3 separate regions of the Homo sapiens genome follow, and regions 1 and 2 are each linked to region 3. The links are contacts of gene promoters, found by promoter capture Hi-C in human tissues and cell types (Jung and others, 2019). All regions are on one chromosome and are shown on one strand. Each heading gives the region's core, a stretch centred on a gene start or on the middle of the fragment in contact. The rest is flanking DNA. Distances are from core to core; before and after follow the strand shown.

Region 1 (4,595 bases), core at 42-2,541, 57 kb before region 3:
GGCTGAGAGTTTGTGCCCAGCTTGGGCCACATAGCAAGACCCTGTCTCTAAAGAATAAAAAAGTAAACAATAAATAAGCTGGGTGTGGTGGTCCAGGCCTGTAGTCCCAGCTACTTGGGAGGCTGAGGTGAGAGGAATACTTGAGCCCAGGAGATTGAGGCTGCAGTGAGCCAAGATGGTGCTACTGCACTCCAGCCTGGGTGACAGAGTGAGACCTTGTCTCAACAACAAACAAACAAAAGAAATCAACAATGAAACCCCAAAAACCTACAACAACAACAACAACAACAACAACAACAACAACAACAAAACCAAAACAAGAACTCCTTCCCAAAGAAAAGTAGTAAACCATTCATGGTTATAAGCATTAAATGTGATGTCCTATTAAAGTGTCTAAATCATGGTCAGGAACCCGATAGGTGCTTGAAATCTAGAAATTTCATTCCTACATAAGGGCCAATTATTGAGCATAGGTCAGATGACCAGTTAAGAAAGCTGCGGTGCAGTAAATTGGAAAGGGAATTGGTGATGTTGGGGAATTCAGGGCAGGATTTGTACCCCCTAAAGGAGCAGTTCAAATCTCAATGATGACTTAGGATGTAGGTCCTTATGGTGAACCTGACAGGGGCTGCTGTGCTGTGAAGTATTGCTTTGAAATCGGGGTCAGGGGTGAAGCAGCTGTTGACGAGGGTGCCCCTCTCTTCTGACCTCTTGGCCTGCCCTTTCTTCTTGCTCCTATGTAGACACTTTCATGAACTACACAGTGGTCTCAGAGGGCTGCAGAAGCTTTATGTAGAGCAGACGTTCTTGAACTTTCGGTCTAAAGACACCTTCGTACTCTTAAAAACTCTCAGAACTTTAAAGAGCTTCTGTCTACCTGGTTAATTCTATTGATATTAAGCACATTAGACATGAAAACTGAGAAATTAAAAAAATAAATTTTTAACAATTATTTAAAAATGCCGATAAACTCATTGCCTGTTAACATAAATCTCTTTTATAAAAACAATTATTTTTAAAAAACGAAAGTATCAAAAAGAATTACCTTTTTTTACTTTGTTTACATTGTTCTGGAAATCTCTTTAATGCATTGCTCAACAGAATACAGATAAGTTCTCATATCTGCTTCTGCATTCAATGTTGGAGAAGTTCTGCATCATGCGGTCTCTGGAAAAGTCCACTGTACGTGTGTATGAAAAAGACACATACCATGTTTGAATTATTATGAAAGTAGTTTTGACCTTGAAGACTCTGAAAGGATCTCAGGAACCTTTGAGAACTGATAATATAACGTATCTTTTTCTTGGTAATAATGTTTTTGAACATTCTCAGTATTCCCTCTCAGCTTCCTCCTGGTGCCTGTGTTCAAGCAATCACAATTGCTAATGATTCTTCTTGCAAAATTCTTAGGTTTGGCAACCCTGGAAATAGTAGATTTGATCTTTAGCTGTCTCCCTCACTCTTATCTTTCCTCTTTCCTTGACAGCTGTTCTTTCCTTTTCACTCTTGGTGGCACAAGCTTGGGAGGTTTTCCATCCAGGCTGGTGCCTCTTAACTTCTCTCTCTGCCTCTAGGGCCTGACAGCTGCCAGGCTGTCCTTTATCTGACATTGTTCACAGTTTACTTCCTTCCCCCAAAGTCTTGGTTTTGACTAAAATGTATTAATTCTTGGTTATGTTTTATAAAGATATCAAAAACTTTTTCAACCAAAGTTTAAAAAAGAATTTGCAGGGTGGGGGTGGGCATGTGTAAAGAATCTCAGGCATCTTCACTGATGAACTTCAGAAACTGTGTCAGTAGATTTCTGATGCCAGCCAGGATTGAGTAATAGGCCCTAGATTTACTTTCTCATAAGAAACAACTAAATTACTCTACAAAATATGCAAAACCAGGGTTTTTAAGAATTGGACATCAGCTAAGGAAGGATAGTGATCCCTGAGAGGCAGAAAACAAAGCCCTGTGACTTCTCCTGCTTACTGATGTGAGAGTTTCCAGGCCATGGCACAGGGAAGCGTGACCCAGGCAGAGTCAGTGAGAAGACTACCCAAAGTCAGAAAAAGCGCCTCCCTAAAAGATTAGATGAAATAGTGGACAGGAGGAGGAATAATTCCTATTCTCACCAGCCAGACTGGAAAGTCTCGTAATTCATAGGGATTTGTTAGAGGACTCAGAAGCATCAAGCTTCAGAAGTGGGATAAAATGAGTCCTAGAGTGAATGGTGCTGTGGTCCTGTCTGCCGAGTCTTAAAAGCAAGATCCAAAAGAATCAAACTATTCTCAATAACTCAAATGCATCCTAAGACACAAAAATATTCAGCATCTAACAAGTTAAAATCCACAATGTTTGGCATTCAACCAAAAAATTACCAGGTATGCAAATAAGGATGATAATAATGCAGAGGAAAATGAGTCAAAACCAACCAAGAACTAATAGAGATGTTAGAATTAGCAGACAAGGACATGGAAACAGTTTTTATAACTGTATTCCATAAACACAGAGGTAAGTAGAGAAACAAAAGACGTGAAAATGCCTGCGTCTAACTTCTAGAGATAACAACTACAATTTCTGAGGTAAAAAAAATGACTGGATGAGATTAATAGCAGATTAGATATTGCAGAAGAATAGATCAGTGAATCGAAAGACATAACAATAGAAACTATAAAAAAAAACCACAGAGGAGGAAAAACAAACAAGTAAAGAACAGAGCATCACGAAACGGTGGGAAAATTTCAAGTCACCAAATACACATGTAATTGGAGTCACTCAAGGGAAAAAGGGAGTGACAGGAAAAATATTTGAAGAAATAATGGCCAGGAGTTCTCCAAGCTGAACTGAAAATTACAAACCCACATACCCAAGAAGTTCAGTGAACCTTAAGAAACTTGAGGACAAACACATCATTTCATCATAATTAAATTTCTTAAAATCAGCGATAAAGAAAAAATCTTAGAAGCCTGAGGGAAAAAATACGCCTACCAAGAAACAGCAGTGACACAGATGGTAGCAGATTCCTCATAGAAACAATGCAAGCTAGAAGAGTTTGGAGCATGATCTCTAACATACTAAAGGAAAAAATTGTCAACCAAGAATTTTATACACAGTGAAAATATCTTTCAAAAACAAAGACACAATAAAGCCATTTCAGATATATAAAAGCTGAATTAATCACTAACAGACCTGCACTACAAAAATGTTAGAGGAAATCCTTCAGACAGAAGGAAAAGGATACTAGATGGAGATCTGGATCTATCCAAAGGATAGAGCACCAGAAATGCCAAATTATTATTTAAATGACTTTAAATGAAAATTATTTAAACAGAAGTAATAATGATGTAGTGTGAGGTTTATAGGATATGTAAAAGTAAAATGAATGACAAAATAGCACAAAAGTCACGCAAGGGAAAATGAAACTATACTATTTTAGGGTTCCTGTATGTAGGGTGATACAGTATCATTTATAGGAACAGTTTTAGCACTAAATACCTGTTTTAAAAAGAAGAAAATTGTCAAATTGGTGACCATAGCCTCCACCTTAAGTAACTAGAAAAAGGAATAAATTACACACCAAACAAGCAAAAGATAAGACATAATAAAGATCAAAGCAGAAAGCAACTAAATAGAAAACAGAAATACAATCAAGGACATCAATGACACCAAAGCTTTGATGTCATTTGATGACACCTTTGAGAAGATCAATAAAATTGATAAACCTTTAGCTGGATTGACTGTGGATTAAAAAGAGAAGACAGAACAATCAATGGTAGGAACTAGGTAATATCACTATACTACACCACAAATAGTAAAAGAATAATAAGGGAATACTAGGAACAAAATTAGGCATAAAACATATACTTTTAGATGAAATAGATAAATTCTTTGAAGGACCCAAGCTACCAGCTTCATTCAAAAAGAAATAGATGACTTGACTAGCCCTCTATCTACTAAAGAAATTGAATTTGTAGTTAAAAATCTTCCCACAAGGCGCAGTGGCTCACACCTGTAATCCTAGCACTTTGGGAGGCTGAAGCAGGAAGATCACGAGGTCAGGAGATCAAGACCATCCTGGCTAACACGGTGAAACCCCATCGCTACTAAAAATACAAAAAATTAGCTGGACATGGTGGCGGGCACCTGTAGTCCCAGCTACTAGGGAGGCTGAGGCAAGAGAATGGCATGAACCCAGGAGGCGGAGCTTGCAGTGAGCCCATATCGTGCCACTGCACTCCAGCCTGGGCGACAGAGCAAGACTCTGTCTCAAAAAAAAAAAAAAAAAAATCTTCCCACAAGGCAAATTCCAGGCCCAGATAACACGTCTTGTGAATTCTACCAAACATTTAAAGAAAATATAATAGTAATTCTACTCAAACTCTTCCAGAAAATTGAATAGGAGTAAATGCTTCTCAACTCATGAGTTCTCCCCAACTCTGTGAGGCTAATATTACCCAGATATCAAAACCAAACAGGACATTACATGGAAAGTACAGACCAGTATTCCTCATGAGCATAGATATAAAATTCTAAACAAAATAGTAGTAAATCAAATCCAACAGTATATAAAAAAGCTAATGCATCGTGACCAAGTAGGTATTATCCCA
Region 2 (4,440 bases), core at 122-2,621, 64 kb after region 3:
TGAACCTAAATCCTCGGAGATTCTTTTCAGCTGGATTAGGTGGGAAAAATTGTCTCTCTCTTGCTCCCTCTCCTACTCTGTCTCTGAAATGTGGGTATAGCTTTGCTGGTAGCAGTCTTTCCTTCCACAAGGATAGATTTTGTTAGCGTCAAGAATGAATCATGTCAAAAGTGAAGAGTCAAGAGATAAGCAGAATCAGAGAAGGAAAGAGAGACCAAGAGAGATCTGTGACATTGTTTGAGTCCCTGGATCCTGTCATGCCTGAATTCCTTGGAACTCTGAAGTTTAGGAGTTAACTATTTCTCATTTCTGCTTAAATTTGGTTTCTGTTTCTCACAATGGAAATAATCCTAACAAATACAAGCCTCAATATGTTAGTCTTTTCCTGCAGACTTCTTTCTGATTGATATCACTGTAGCAATGTGAATTTTTCTATGAAATCATGTAAGTTTCTCTCCTTGGAAAAGAGATTAAAAAGCCATACTAGGTTTGGGGTTCCTATCATAAGTGTGTTTGGGTATAAATTATACAATGGCTCAAAAGTAACATAAAAAATTTATTTTTGGGGGCAGTGCACACTTAAGGCATGAAATCCGGCGCCTCAGTCCACTGCTGGGATGCCACTGGTGGCCATCATCTCCTCCCAGGCTCCACATCTGAGCCTTGTACAGAGCGATGTCATTGCAGACCCTGCAGTGGTTCAGCCTGCAATCTGGGCATTCTGGGTTGAGGGGGGGGCACTGAGTCCCATGCACTTTCCTGGTTTTCGGTCTGTGTCTGGGTCCCTCTTCCTTGGTCCCTGGGCAGCGTGGTGAATGAGATTCCGAAACCTGGCGTCTCCAGGCTCCTCCAGGTTACCATGCCAAGACATGGGCTTCCTGGTGATCTGTGGACCTCGTGGAGGGGTTCACGTGATACCGCGCATAGACGTTCTGGGCTGGTAGCCCTTTGAGGTACAGCTCCTGCAAGATCTGGTTCTGACGGACCTCATCCTGGATCACCTTCTCCCTGGGGTGTCCCGCCATGGCCTTGGCATTGCTCCATCGGGTTCGATGCGCTCTCTGCTCCCTTGTGCCTCTCTCCCTGGCCCCGGGCTTCTGCCTTCTCCAGGCAACGGTGTCCCACACGGTCTCCAGGCTACAGCACTCCCACAGCCCCAGCTCCTGGCGACCCAGCCCTTACCCCAACCGCCCGTGGACACCTCCAGGAAAGGGCTTCCTGTCACGGGACAGACCCGGAGGTCATGGGCATGTGGTTAGGCCTCACCTTGGCCAGTCGTTTCTCTCCCAGCGAGCAGAGGCGCTGCTTCCTCGTGCTCTCCCTTCTCTGTCTCGGGCCTGCAGTTTGCTCCGTGGTTCCAGACCAAGGCCCACGGGGAAGCCATTGCCAAATGCAGAGGCTGGCGCGGCTGGCTGAGCAGGCAGCGGAGGCCGAGGGTGGGTGTCCGTGGTCCTGCGTCCCCGTGTCCACAGCCAGGCCGCGGGGACCCTAGGGTCCGCTCCTTCGCTGCCCGAGCACGGTGCCTGCAGGGGCCCCTCCGTGGGGTCGTGGATCGTCAGGGCCGCGTGGGTGGCTGGGCGGGGGCGGGCTGTAGGCAGCTTCTAAAAGCAGGGGCTGGGCGGGGGCGTGGGGGGATAGGGAGGGACGTAGTGGAAGTTGGGGCCCCAACGGACATGAGGGCGGCAGATGCAGATCTTATGAAGATTCAGGCAGGAAGAGCTCGGCAGGGCGATGCCCAAGACGGGGTAGTGGACGGGGACGAATTGGTTCAGAGACGGGTAGCAGATGGGGCAGAAGGACGAGTAGGTGGGCTGGAACAGGAGCGTAGTCTGCGGGTCCAGAAACGGGGGACGGATGGGAGGAAAGAAGAGCCGACTGCCAGGGAGCTGCGGGGTGGCGCCGAGCGGGCGCCGGGGTTGGGAGGCGGAGAGGCGGGGCAGCTTTCGAGTCATTTTCAGCGAGTGCAAAGCTCCCTCGTCGGAACGGTCGGAGTGCGCGGCGAGCGCGGGGCCTGCGCGGCTTTTATCTCCTCAGGGCGTTCCAGGGCGGAACGTGCTTTGTGACCTGCGCCCCCCGTGAAGCCGGGAGCCCCTCGCGAGTTGGCACAGGGCCCCGTCTCAGGGTTTAGGAGCGAACGGGGAAATGGAAGACAAAGGAAATGGGGGGACATAGCAACCCCTATTCTTGTACCCTGTAGTTTTGCCCTCAGTAGGCAAAGGCTGATCAGAGGGCTAGGATACAGTTAGAGGCCGGGGGCCTGGGGGAGCGGCTCTGAGCAGGATCTGGGAAAAGGGGACGAAGTCAGTGCCCCAGGCACCTTCCCTTAAGACAGCGCAGCGTTCAAAGCCCTTCAGTCCTTCACATCACTGCGGGAACATGCGCAATTAGACATGCTAGGTCCATTTTACCCATGGGACAGGAAGGACCAGAGAGGGAACTTCCATAGGCTGGCGGTGGTGACAAAGCAGGTGGGGCTAGAACTTGGGTCAGGAGAGGGCAGGTAGGAGGGAAGGCAAAATGCCCCAAGCGCGCACCAGCGCCTTGCCTCTCCTGCATGTCTGGACGGGGTCCTGCAGGGGGCGCGTCAGAGCAGACCTGGGCGTTTCCTAGCTTACCCTTGGTCCCCGTATTCCTTGGTTTGAAGCTTTACTCTTTAAAATACTTTTTTTAAATCTTTAAATATTTATTTTATTTCATTTTAGATTCCTGGGTACATGTGCATGTTTGTTACATGGATATATTGCATAATGGTGAGGATTTGGCTTCTAGGGTACCCATCACCAAAATATGAACATTGTACCCAATAGGTATTTTTTATCCCTCACTACCATCCCACCCTCCTCCATTTTGAAGTCCCCAATGTCTGTTACTTCCATCTTTATGTTCATATGTACTCATTGTTTAGCTCTCACTTTTAAGTGAGAACATGCAGTATTGTACTTTCTGTTTCTGAGTTATTTTACTTAGTATGATGGCCTCCAGCTCCATGATGTTGATTCAACGGACATGATTTCATTCTTTTTTATGGCTATATAGTATTCCTTACCATATTTTCTTTATCCAATCAACTGTGGCTGGACATTTAGGTTGGTTCCATGATTTTGCTATTGTGAATAGTGCTGCAATAAACATCTGAGTACAAGTGTCTTTTTTAATGTAATGATTTCATTTCCTTTGGGTAGATTCCCAATAGTAGGATTGCTGGGTCAAATGGTAGTTCTCTTTTTAGTTAATTGAGAAATCTCCACACTGTTTTCCATAGAAGTTGAACTAATTTACATCCCCACCAGCAGTGTATAAGCGTTCCTTTTTCTCTGTGTCCTTGCGTTGTTTTTTTGACTTTTTATTAACAGCCATTCTGACTGGTGCAAGATGATATCATTGTGGTTTTAATTGGCATATCTCTGATGATGAGTGATGTTTCATGTGTTTGTTGGCCGAGAAACAACTTTTAATGTATCTACTTGGCATAACCTAGCCAGACAAATGCTTTCTATAGTTATGAAAGCGGAATTAAATTTGAACCAATAAATGTCATAATCCTCTACTACTCCATCACTTCTCCCCACTCCTAGACACATAAGCTTTAGGAATAAGTGAAAGAGTGAGGGCTGATCCCTAATGAGGCAGTGTGGAGCAGATGGGCTATCAGTGGGTCTCTTCAGGCTATTGGCTGGTGCTAGAGAGGAAGGGCACACCCAGGAAGGGACTGGGGCTGTCACTGGTACACTTGGGTTGTTCTGATGGTGCTTCAAAACACAAGAACAAGCCAAGCAACCACACAAATGGGGGCTAAGCACAGCCATGCTTTGGGTTAAGCGGGCATATTGTCATCAAAGACCTCTCCACCTTTCTCTGTCCTGAAGAAGTTTGCCCAGATTGTGAGCACAGCCCGTCCTGGTTCCATCTGGGGAGTTTGGGATGCTTAGAAAATTTCCTTTTCATACCTGACATGCCCAAATAAAGAGAGATCTCTTTCTTTTTCTCTTTTTAAAAGGCCTGATTTAAAGACTGCTTAAATCAACATAGATGAATTAGATAAGTCATTATGCAACAATGCCTTTTCCATAATGACTCAATTTCTGAACATGGTGTGACTTGGTGGGTTGCGTTTTGCTCTGGTTGTTCTAAGGAGGGGAGCTTAGGGCAATGACCTGGGACAGCTCTAAGATTTTGCCTTTTCTTTTAGCTGGAACCATGTGCTAGAACTATCAGAGTATGACCAAGTTTTCCTTTTTTGCTTGGTTTGACATTGCTGCCTAAGATAAGACATACAGTACAGGCTGCAGAAACACACAAAAATTCTGCTGATAATACACACTTGTTTCTATGGCCAGGAAGCCCTGATTTGCTCACCTCCTCACCACCATGACCAGGTGTGAATTCACAGGTAAAAGGGCAAGTTTGTTTACTCCTAGTTGCTCTTGAATAGAGAGTTGA
Region 3 (4,439 bases), core at 1,546-4,045:
CTCCCTGGCTGCTTCTTCCATTTCTAGAAGTCCATTTCATCCCAACAATAGCAGTCTGCTACAGAAATGCTGCTATATATTCCCAAGCCTCATAGAGGGGAAATATGAGAACTTAAGGGCCTTAAAGGTATAAAGATCTTGGTGGAGCCCCAAACACCCACCCCAGCCTAATACTGGGTTTTGGAAAGTTTAATTGTTGCGTGTGAATATATTTCTGTTTCATTCTCATTGGGAAACATTATCTGTGGGATATGGCCAATGGGAAATAATCAGATATTTAGTTAGAACAAATAAAAGGTAGTATGCATCATGTAAAATATAAATTTGTATATGAAATCTTTAATCCAAATTGTTGCCCTCCTACCCTTCTGAATAGCCGTCATATCCTAGTCTGAGGGTCAAATAGACTGAAGGTAAAATTCAACCAAGCAGAATTCTGTAATGCTTTCATCACACACAGATTTGTTGCTTTTTGCCTGCTCTCAGAATGAAGTGATGAATCTCTAGAGGAAGTTGATTTACTTCATAAAAAAAAAAACCAACTGAAAATTATTTCCTATGGCCACTGACTAATGCTAGAAAACATTAAGAATATTCCCATTGAAAAAATATCTGCAAGTGGGAGAGAATTAGACAAGGAGGGGTTGGTAGGGGGATGGTGATAAGCATCTATTACATATTATACACCCTGTTATGGAGGCTTTACAACTGCCACCTCTGAAAACTGGGCATAACCTCTCAATCTAAATGTATATAAAATAAAATCACAGGATAGCTTTTACATCAGAGCAGCAAAACTGGCAAAATTTAAAAGTCTGACATTACCAAATATTGGTAAGAACATGAAGCAATGAAATTCTTTTCCTCTAAAGGACATAGCTATGGAAAAAAATTAGGGCTTTTCTAATACAATTGAGGATGTACCTACCCAATGATTCTGCAATTCCGTTCACTAAATGGCCTCTGAAATACTCGCACAAAAGGACATTACCAGAATCTTTGCAGCAGCACCGTTTATAAGAGCAAAATATAAATTTGGAAAAACTTAAATGTTCGAAGGAGATGAATACATTTAAGTTTTTTTTTTTCAAGGTAATTGAGAACCTGCAGTAAATATTATGGTTTCCTGTTATTTTTAATTGCTAAGTTTACAATACCCGGAATCAGTTCTGCCTTCAAAGCCAAGTGTTCATTTTCCACGTATCAGGAAACACATTTGGCATAGAGACCATCCCAGGAAGTTAAATTTCAGATTCTCAGAATTAGTAGCAAAGTGCAATGTCAGAAGTGTCCAGTGAGAGGCACTGCAGGGGACTGGGATGGCCTGTCTTAACTTCATACATTTTGGGGCAACAATACCCATTAAACTTGGCATATATACTAGTCCTCAGGCTAAGAAATAAGATAGGACACAAATGCATCTATTCATAAAGTGAAAATGAAAAAAGATAGCATAAAGATTTAGAAATACCTTTCAACACTGCTCATAGAAATAATTCTGAATGCAAATCATATGACTTTTATAAAAATAGTAACACTTTTGTTTTGTTTTGGATGAGGACATAAACGCTGAAGAATATACATATACAGAGGAACCTCGTTTACTGCTGATAGTAGGGGAAATAAATAATAATCTCTATTTATAGCTTAAGAAAGAGGTCCTCAAAGAGTGGGAGCCCTATGGGTCCCTGAGAGACCCTTCAAAAAGATCTGTGAAATCAAAACTATGTTCATCGTAATATTAAGACCTTATATTCCTTTTTTATTCTCATTCTCTCATTAGTGTATGGTGGACCTTTTCAGAAGCTATATGACATATTATATCATGACACTGATTGCAGAAGCAAGTATGAGAATCCAGTCATCTTCTAGTAAGCCAGACATCAAAGAGATCTGCATCTATGTAGAACAATGCCGCTTTTCTCAATAAGCCTGTTTTAGAAAGTAGAGTTATTTTTCATAAATTGTATGATATTTGCGTTAACATGTAATGGGTTTATTGTCACTTAAATAAGAAAGTAAACGTTTAAAAATTCTCCCTTTAACTTCTAATGTAGTAATATTGACAGGCATAACCTACATAGACAAAAGCACTTTGGAATCCTCAATACTTTTTAAGAGTGTAGAAATCTACAAACCACTGACCTTCAGCCTATCACAGGAAGCTTTGCTATTAGCACAATTATTGCATCTCTGCTCCTATGGTTGCTTTTGTCTCACTGTCTCTGATCTTTCAAAGACCGTTGGGAAGAGCTTGACCAGTAATCTATTGAATGGAGATTACATTTTGAACCTTTTCCTACAACTCAGTGCCCTGTGGGATGACTCTGGGGTGTCTCCTGATGGCTAGGGCAACAGGTCCCTGTTGACATCACCTTATCGGGAAGTTTTAGACAGGAACAGTCTTCAGGCTCTGAAGTACTTGAACACCATGGGATTCCTGCCTTACAGAAGTTAATGAGCACGACTCAGGCAGATTCATAATTCTCCTTAGAAGCCATTTGGGATGGCTTCCACTTTGGGGTCATTCCACATAGGCCAATGCAGAGCATGCAGTAACTGCTCAAATAGGATTTGGAAAGGAATGAATAATTCATTTAGACGTTCAACTTGGAATAGACTTAAGCAGACACTCCTGGTGATGAAGGACTTAGATGCCAGAAAATCAGGCTCAAAGACTTTCAAGCCACTTCCTAGTGTGATGTCACATTCCTTCCTACGCTCCACTGGGGAAGGCAGGTCTGCCCCGCCCACGGTGGCGGGGAAATACCTAGGCATGGAAGTGGCATGACAGGGCTCGTGTCCCTGTCATATTTTCCACTCTCCACGAGGTCCTGCGCGCTTCAATCCTGCAGGCAGGTAGACACCGGGCCGGGAGTCTGGCTGAGCCAGGCATGGGTGGGGCCCTGACAGTAGGAGAGGTGTGCAGGAAAAGACGTGGCAACAATGTGTGCCACCGCAGGCCAGGGATCAGGCCCCCCAGGCCGGCCCCCGACCGGCTAGGTGACCATGGGGGAGCCGACTCCGTCTCTGGGTCGAGGAGTGGAGCTCGCGGCTATTTTCAGCTCCAGCGGCTCCCTGCCTTCCTTTCTCCTTTCCCGCTGGCCCTTGCCAGGTAGGCCTGCCCTGGCTGCTCCCCAGTGAGCGGGTGTTTGGGGTTTCTGTTTAGACCGCCAGGCTCGGGTGGATCCCGAGGACACAGGCGCGCAGGGGAGGCTCCGTGCGCCGCGAGCGGGGTTGGGGTCCCACGTCTGGAACCCAGGCCGCAGGCTGCGCTGGGGGGCGCCCTGGCCCTCACGGGGGCTCTGGACACCAGCCTGCTTCGCTGTCAGGTGGCAGAAGCAGCTCCCACGCGGTCCCCACCGCCGCCGCCGCCTACTCCTCGCCCATCCTCCTCTGCGGCGGGGCGAGCTCCCTGCCCTGGATCCTGGTCGGGCGCCCAGACGAAGGAGACAGGGGAAGGGCAGTCTTTGGGGAAACGTGGGGCCAAAGTCGGAGGGCTCCCCAGGAAAAAGGGAAGGTCAGCGGCCTGGGCGGTTGTCTTTGAGATTCCGAGGTCGCCCACGCCGGCGCCTCGGGCCCGCCCTACTGCGTCCTCCCCTCCCACCCTCTTCTCCCTTCCTTGCAGCCCGGTTTGGGGATGTGGTCCTTGCTGCTCTGCGGGTTGTCCATCGCCCTTCCACTGTCTGTCACAGCAGGTACGTTCCGTGTGTCCTCCGTTCCCAGAGGCTGCCCGAGTCCACAGGCTCCTGGCCTGTCATTGGGAGCCCCCGGGGATCGCGTCAGCCCGAGCGCGGCTCCTTCCCCTCCCCAGACCGCCAGGCGGAGTTCCGCGGAAGAGGAAACAGAGAACCAGCTCCACGTGCTCGGATGCTCAGCCCTGAATGTCGCCTTTGAGCTTGGAGGTGACTTCGGGGAGGGGAAGGAGTTAGGCAAATTCCAAGTGAAGACTTGAGTAACAATGCTCAAATGGAATTACTACAGGCTATTTTATAAGATAAAGCGTTATTTTATGACACAAGGTGAAAGCAAGGAAACCGTCAATAGAACAAATTTCTTCTAAGAAATTTGGTATGGCCGGGCGCAGTGGCTCATGCCTGTAATCCCAGTACTTTGGGAGGCCAAGGCGGGCGGATCACGAGGTCAGGAGATCTAGACCATCCTGGCTAACACGGTGAAACCCCGTCTCTACTAAAAATACATTAAAAAAATTAGCCGGGCGCGGTGGCGGGCGCCTGTAGTCCCAGCTACTCAAGAGGCTGAGGCAGGAGAATGGCGTGAACTCGGGAGGCGGAGCTTGCAGTGAGCCGAGATTGAGCCTCTGCACTCCAGCCTGGGCGACAGAGAGAGACTCCGTCTCAAAAAAAAAAAAAAAAGGAAATTTGGTAGAAATGAACTTTAAAAGTGAACCAAATTTTTTTTCTTAAACAATCGTTTTG

The links. The method cuts DNA at HindIII sites, captures the fragments that hold promoters and counts their contacts. A contact is called where the count stands out against the background at its distance.
Region 1: a contact is called between a fragment that was not itself captured here and the fragment with the promoter of IL1RL2 in region 3, in 1 of the 25 tissues and cell types used here (bladder).
Region 2: a fragment that was not itself captured here is called in contact with the fragment with the promoter of IL1RL2 in region 3 in 1 of the 25 tissues and cell types used here (bladder).

Annotation. Positions count from the first base shown.
Region 1 is chr2:102,128,988-102,133,582 of GRCh38, forward strand. It overlaps a transcript of IL1R1 not described here. Among named protein-coding and RNA genes, the nearest start is that of IL1R1, 11 kb to the right of the region's middle. The HindIII fragment of the contact is 3,258 bases long and covers 1-2,920 here.
Region 2 is chr2:102,249,231-102,253,670 of GRCh38, forward strand. It overlaps the pseudogene CFAP144P2. Among named protein-coding and RNA genes, the nearest start is that of IL1RL1, 60 kb to the right of the region's middle. RefSeq lists an enhancer at 1,433-2,026. The HindIII fragment of the contact is 3,485 bases long and covers 1-3,114 here.
Region 3 is chr2:102,184,228-102,188,666 of GRCh38, forward strand. It overlaps IL1RL2 (interleukin 1 receptor like 2), which reads left to right and starts at 2,796. Exons shown (of 12, transcript NM_003854.4): 1 at 2,796-2,859; 2 at 3,629-3,698. The coding sequence starts at 3,641. RefSeq lists an enhancer at 2,452-2,981. The HindIII fragment of the contact is 7,879 bases long and covers 34-4,439 here.